2 separate regions of the Homo sapiens genome follow, and region 1 is linked to region 2. The links are contacts of gene promoters, found by promoter capture Hi-C in human tissues and cell types (Jung and others, 2019). All regions are on one chromosome and are shown on one strand. The core of a region is centred on a gene start or on the middle of the fragment in contact, and the rest is flanking DNA. Distances in the headings are between cores, read along the strand shown. Region 1 overlaps TMX4 (thioredoxin related transmembrane protein 4). Region 2 holds the start of HAO1 (hydroxyacid oxidase 1).

What was found. The method cuts DNA at HindIII sites, captures the fragments that hold promoters and counts their contacts. A contact is called where the count stands out against the background at its distance.
Region 1: a fragment that was not itself captured here is called in contact with the fragment with the promoter of HAO1 in region 2 in 4 of the 25 tissues and cell types used here (hippocampus, liver, mesendoderm cells and 1 more).

What each region holds. Positions count from the first base shown.
Region 1 is chr20:8,011,523-8,014,930 of GRCh38, forward strand. The region is part of intron 1 of TMX4 (thioredoxin related transmembrane protein 4); the gene reads right to left. Among named protein-coding and RNA genes, the nearest start is that of TMX4, 6.5 kb to the right of the region's middle. The HindIII fragment of the contact is 6,626 bases long and covers 1-3,408 here.
Region 2 is chr20:7,939,025-7,942,326 of GRCh38, forward strand. It overlaps HAO1 (hydroxyacid oxidase 1), which reads right to left and starts at 1,434. Exons shown (of 8, transcript NM_017545.3): 1 at 1,262-1,434. The coding sequence starts at 1,398. The HindIII fragment of the contact is 11,188 bases long and covers 1-3,302 here.

The DNA.
Region 1 (3,408 bases), core at 113-2,612, 72 kb after region 2:
TAACAAAACAAAAAACAAAAACTGAAATTGGGCAAGATTTTGATCTTTCGCATTATAAAAGATGAGTCAGGGGTTAAAAAGCGAAGACTAGGGGAAGGAATGCATTTATTTCACAAAAAGTACTGAAAATTAGGCAGAACCCAGAAGAGAATGGACTACCCAAAGCCAAAGCATTCATTACTTTCTCCAGACAGGCCCCAGAAGCAGCAAGACTTAGCAAGCACAGTTGTTCACCATCTCTAGAAAAGACTACTATATAGCTAATTCCAAGATCATGCTAAAACATCATTAATCTTTCCATTACAGCTCACTGTCCAAATCCTGAGATCCAGAAGACAGGAACAACAAAATAATCTGCTGACATCTTTGAATGTAGATTTTTTTAAACCTTCGTGTCTCTGTATTTCCAAGGCAAAGTACATTCTTGATATACAGTAGGTGTTCAATAAATGTTTGCTGAATAAACAAGTGTATCAACTTTAATGAAAATCATATTCTTCATCTGAGAAAATAAGTTATTTTCTATGTAGTTTCTAAATATCCAAGTTAACAGATGAGACTCAGGCAGTTGGCAAACTTTAGGAAAAAAAGGAATTCTGAATTATCAAGTACATTTCAACAAGCGTTCCATGATGTTGGATAAGAGTTCTGCTATAACAATCAGAAAGATCAACCAGGAATTAATCATGATATTCTGGGCAGGTTAATAATCTCTCCATGCCTCAGTTTCCTCAACTGTAAAATGGGATAATAACAGTAGCTACCTTAGGTTACTGAGAGATCAGATGAAATACGAAGCAGGCACATATTTATTTAATAGGAGCAACCATTAATACAAATTTCATTTGTAATACTGCTTGGGGTTCAAGACACTTTTACGATGCATTAGCTCATCTGACCTTACAGCCTCACTGCCAAACAGACAAAGCAGGTATAGAGATGTGCTTAAGACCACTCAGAGCAAGAACACAGATGGAGGTATTTCTTTGATAAAAATCGTCAAGGAATATAAAACTTCAACATTCAGAGGGAGAAAGAAGTTATAAGAAAGTAACAAGAATAAGGAAGTTATCTTGAAGTATAATATAATATAATGAACTTCAGATCCTCTTTATTTCCCTAGGACGCTCTTTGCATATAAATCACAGGCACATTTGCTGCATCAGTAATTATGTTTCATAATTTAAAAAATACAGGACTTAATCTCTAGATAGGCTATTACTAAGTTGGTTTTTGGTGAAACTGACCTTCAGATATACAATTATAATGCATCCTCGGATATGCCACTGAGGTAATTTTAGATATGCCATTTCTACATAGCTGCTATACACTGGTCTGTGGCATTGTTAATGCCATTATTTCACAGATTTAATCACAGCTGATTTGTGTTGGAATGCACCCAGATGTTCTTTCAGTGGTAGAGATAAGCCAGCTCTGAGTCTTTAGCATGGGAACTGGTCCATTGTTGCTGCAGTTTTTAAAGTTTTTAATATTCTTTTGTATCTAAAGAACAGTAATTTGTATAAGAATTTAGAAACTAAGTAAAATATCTCCAGGGACAAAATGAATGCAAGGATCAGTCATGTGACCTTCATGCTCCTCTCTCACTCTGTGTACACATAGATACATATATATATAATTTATGTATATATGCATAAATTAAACACATCAGAAATAATTGAACATGATCTTCATTAAATTTATTTCAAACTAGTTCACACTGGCAATCTTCTCCTAAGAACTATAAAAGATATGACCTGCCATAACTTTGTCTCTTACACATAATCCTTAAGAGCCTCCAAGAGCAATTAGCTCCATTATAGTCATTTAAACTGTAAATTGTTATCTTTTCTACTGAACTTTTGTTGACTTGTTTGCAGGTCACAGTGGTATGTAAAATTAGTAAACTTCATAAACATATTTGAAATATATTCCAGATAGCCAAAAAGCTCTGGTAAATTACACCAACTTACATGTCAGTGCAATGTTTTTAACCATTTCTGGGAAACAAAATTCAACAGCATGTTTTTGTTGTCCACGTTTTTTGTTCAACAGAATGTTTTTGTTGTCCATGTTGTCCGTGTTTTGTTGATGGAACGAGGTTGAAGGACCTTGAATCTTTTATTCCATGAACTTACTGAATTTGGTTTAAGATTTCATTAGGTGTGCTAAATATTTCAGAGAAGGACTTACTTATATTTATTTCCTAGAAAGGAAATTTTATTAACGATAAATTTTTATTTACCAATAATGAACAACTCTTCTTCTGTCTTGACTCTAATTTCACCAGTGTTTCTCAGTACACTCTCTTTTCTCCTGACTTTTTCTTATCTTTGCAGAAATGAGACAGTCAATAACAGATCCAGTCAATTTTCACTTAGTAGAACTTTGATCAAAATGCTCAGAATACTCAGCAACAATGAAGAGGAAAGAGGTATACTAGGTTCATCTTTCTATGACTTAATAAAGGAAACTAAATCAAAGTGTCAACAAAAGATGCCTTAACTACATCAAGTGTTATTCTTCCTTTTGGCAAATGTGGAATGACCCATGAATTGAAAGCCTTATGCTCAAATTTATTTCTTTGGACAATAATTTCTAGAACGTGTTATCACAAAAGGTAGAGGAAACATAAAAACTGGCAGCTCTATGAAAATCATGACACCTGCTAGAGAAAGTGGAATTCATGACTTTCACTAGAATTAACACTCCACGAAAGCAGTGACTGCTGCATGACTTGCACCACAGAACAGAACCTGGAAGGTCCTAGGCCACCACAATAAATATTCCATCAGTGAACAAATGGGAGATGATAGTAATTATCCTTAAGACTTCAGAAAATATATAAAGATGTCTCCTTCAGTGATATGCTTGAAGAAGTGCCTGATAAAAGAGCAATTAATCTATTATTCACTCATTTACCTAGTCACAAAGTATTTTTTGAACACAAACTACTTGTTAGTTATTAAAGCTTTGGAGATAAACAGGGAAGGAAAAAAATAACCTTGTTCCTTTACTTAAAAGCTTATAATAGAGGTAGTCAAAGAAAGACCTAGTACAAAAGCATATCAATAAATGTGTAATTACTGGTTGTGATAGGACCATGCAAGACACAACCAAAGCATAGTGAGAAAGAATTTTCCTGGGGCATTGCGATGATGGGAAGGCAGGGCACCTGTTTAAGTGGTGAACAGTGTCAGGAATGAGTATACAGTAAAAATGTTCTTTACTTGCAGAAACTAGAGAGATGGTAAAAGCTTGGATGGGCCTTAGAATCCAGCACGAACAAGGCCTACCCTCATGTGAGTCAGGGTGCTGGCTAGCTGAGGGCCAAAGCAAGAGTCAACCAGGCCCTGTGCCTTCCTCCAGGCTCCCCAGGAGAACTGGGAACTGCAGATCAGAAACTGC
Region 2 (3,302 bases), core at 184-2,683:
TCAAGAGACCACTCATAGGCAAATTTTGGTGGACAAAGTTAATATCGGCCCAAGAAGGGGCATCTTCCAAGAGCAGAAACTTTTAAATGAGTCCAAAATAGTAAATAATGATGCAGAATTTTAAGCCCCTCTACTCTCAGTCAACTTCCCTTCCCATGACTTCCCTGGCATTTGTTGAGCTCATTTGGGTTCCAGGCAAAACCTGAGACAAAGTCAAGGCTTGAAAGGGTTGGGGAGAGGCCGTATCCTTCACCCCATTGCCATTTTCAGTCTTCTACATGGATTTGTGGGTGAATCAGTGCTGCCTACCAGAGACCACCTTGGCCAGGATAATTTTATTTCTCCTAATTTAAATATGGAAAACTGATTTTGAGTGATTTTGTTGTAGACTAAAGAAGAAATCAGGGAGGAAGGCTAATTCTCTCCCCCTGCATATTTTCTGCCTTTTTGTCTTTATCACCATCAATGAGTACCCACAATACCGATTGCCTTTACTAACAGCCATAATGTTAGATGGATGAGACTGAGTGTAGTGTAGTGAAGGCACTCCTCTCTTGCTCCAGCAAATAAACCATTTTTGTAACTGCTATAAAAAAAAACCCTTTGAAATGATTTTATTTCTTGTTTTTATTACAAACAGAAAACATAAACCATGTCACCCACCATCTTGTGCTTTGAAATATGAAAGTCAAAGGAAAACTAATTTGGGAAGAGAGATGAAGTGCTTTGAAGGAGAGATGAAACAGCAAAGTTGAAAGATTAATGCTGCATAGACAAATTGAAATCTAAAGTGAAAGTTTAGACAACAGTAATCAAAATGAATGATAACACGAAAAGCCAGCAGGAAGAAAACATTTGAGCCAACAATCCAGTCTGGTTCATCCGGATAAGATGGTTATCTGGCATTTAATGCTGTTTCCTACACCATGAACATAAGCATTTACTGTCATACTAAGAAAAAGAAAAGTCATCCGAATTTATCGCTATTTTTACATGTAGTTAAATTAATTGTTGTCATATTTCCAAGTGAAGTAACATAGGTTTGGCTTTTGCAGTCAGTTCCTCAAGATTCACAGGCTTGGAATATTTTTTAACAATTTAAAGGCCCAAGATTTCTTACAGCCCCAAGAACTTTTCCCTCTCTACTAAGCACAAATCTGAACAAATAATTACACACCACCAACGTAAAACTAGGAGATCTTATTTTGGTACGGTCTTTGTGTAATTTTAAAACATGATTTTAAAAAATAAATTTTCTTACCTGGAAAATGCTGCAATATTATCAGCCAAAGTTTCTTCATCATTTGCCCCAGACCTGTAATAGTCATATATAGACTTTGGAAGTACTGATTTAGCATGTTGTTCATAATCATTGATACAAATTAGCCGGGGGAGCATTTTCACAGGTTATTGCTATCCCAGATGGAGTTCGTTGTTTTTTTTTTTTTAATGTATTGCTTTCTACATCCTCACTGTTCTGTTATTTGTCAATTATTAATAGACTTTTGCCAAAGTTCAGATTTAGTTCTCTGTTGCTTACATCAAGTGAGCAAACATTATATGCTTAGCCTTTGAAATTTCATTTGTAGGCTATCTGCCAAAGAACACCGAAGTCACTATCTGCCAAAGAACACCAAAGTTGAGGTTGGGAAGGCAGCAGAAGGTGATTAGGTGTCTATCACATTAAAAAGGGGAAAGGAATAAGTAAAAAATTAAAGACTTAGAGGAATACCTGTATGAAACCACTCTTGGTTCAGTTTTGCCTAAGGCTGCTTATTGCACATGGTCTGTGCCTGTGCTCTTTGCTTGATACCCAGAATAGGCTGCCCACTCATTTTCTTTCCACATTTGGATCATGCACAAATCATGTAAACAAGAGCTTATGAACTGAACGGGGCATCCATGAAATATGGGGCATCCGTGAAATTCAGGGCTTCTGCACAATATAAAATTTAGCTGATTACAAACATAGACATTTGGCTTTAACATGGAACATTAAGGCCAAATTGACAGCTAATTGTTTTATTCATTCTGTATATTTGAGGTTTACAACATGATATTATGAGATACATATACACAGAAAAATGGTTACAGTAGGGAGGCCAATATAATATATGTATCATCTCACCCGTAATTACTTTTTTGTGTGTATGACAAGAACAGCTAAAATCAACTTATTTAACAAAAATTCCTAATATGATACAATTTTATTAACTTTAGTCCTCATTTTGCACGTTTGCTCTCTAGACCAGGGGTCCCAAACTCCCCAGCATGGACTGGTACTGGTCCGTGGCCTGTTAGGAACCAAGCTGCACAGCAGGAGGTGAGCAGCCGGTGAGCAAGCTTTACAGACTGAGCTCCGCCTCCTATTGTGAACTGCACATGCGAGGGATCTAGGTTGCGCCACTCCTTATGAGAATCTAATGCCTGATGATCTGAGGTGGAACAGTTTCATTCCAAAACCATCCACCTACCCCCACTGCCCATGGAAAAATTGTATTCCACAAAACTTGTCCCTGGTGCCGAAAAGGTTAGGGACCCTGTTGTAGATTTATGTATCCTACGTGTCTACTATTTTGTATCCTTTGACCTATATCACCCCTTTTCCTCTTCCCTGCTTCCCACTAGTGGTATTCACTGTTTCATTCTCTAGCTCTGTGCATTTGAAGTCTTTTTTAAAACAAAATCCCACCTATAAGTGAAATAATGCAATAATTTCCCTTTTGTGCCTGGCTTATTTCACTTAGCATAATGTTCTCTGGGTTCTACTGCAAATGACAGGATTCCCTTCTCTTATAAGGCTGAATAATATTTCATTGTGTGTATATCTATACATTTCCCTTATCCATTTGTCTCTTAATGGGCATTTAGGTTTACCATTAATTCTTTTTTTTTTTCTTTTTGAGATGGAGTCTTTCTCTGTCTCCCAGGCTGGAGTGCAGTGGTGTGATCTCGGCTCATTGCAGCCTCTACCTCCCAGGTTCAAGAGATTATTCTGCCTCAGCCTCCCAAGTAACTGGGACTACAGGCATGTCCACCACGCCTGGCTAATTTTTGTATTTTTATTTAGTAAAGATGGGGTTTCACTATATTGGCCAGGCTGGTCTCAAACTCCTGACCTCAAGTGATCCAACCACCTCGGCCTCCCAGAGTGCTGGGATTGCAGGTGTGAGCCACTGCACATGGCCTACCACTAATTCTTAGAGTCTTATCTTGCCCTGGAGAGGGTATAGGGAAGTGCTATTCCAAAAGACCTGTGGTCTCAGTCTATAATTTCACTCAATCATGGAACACCTGGGGAA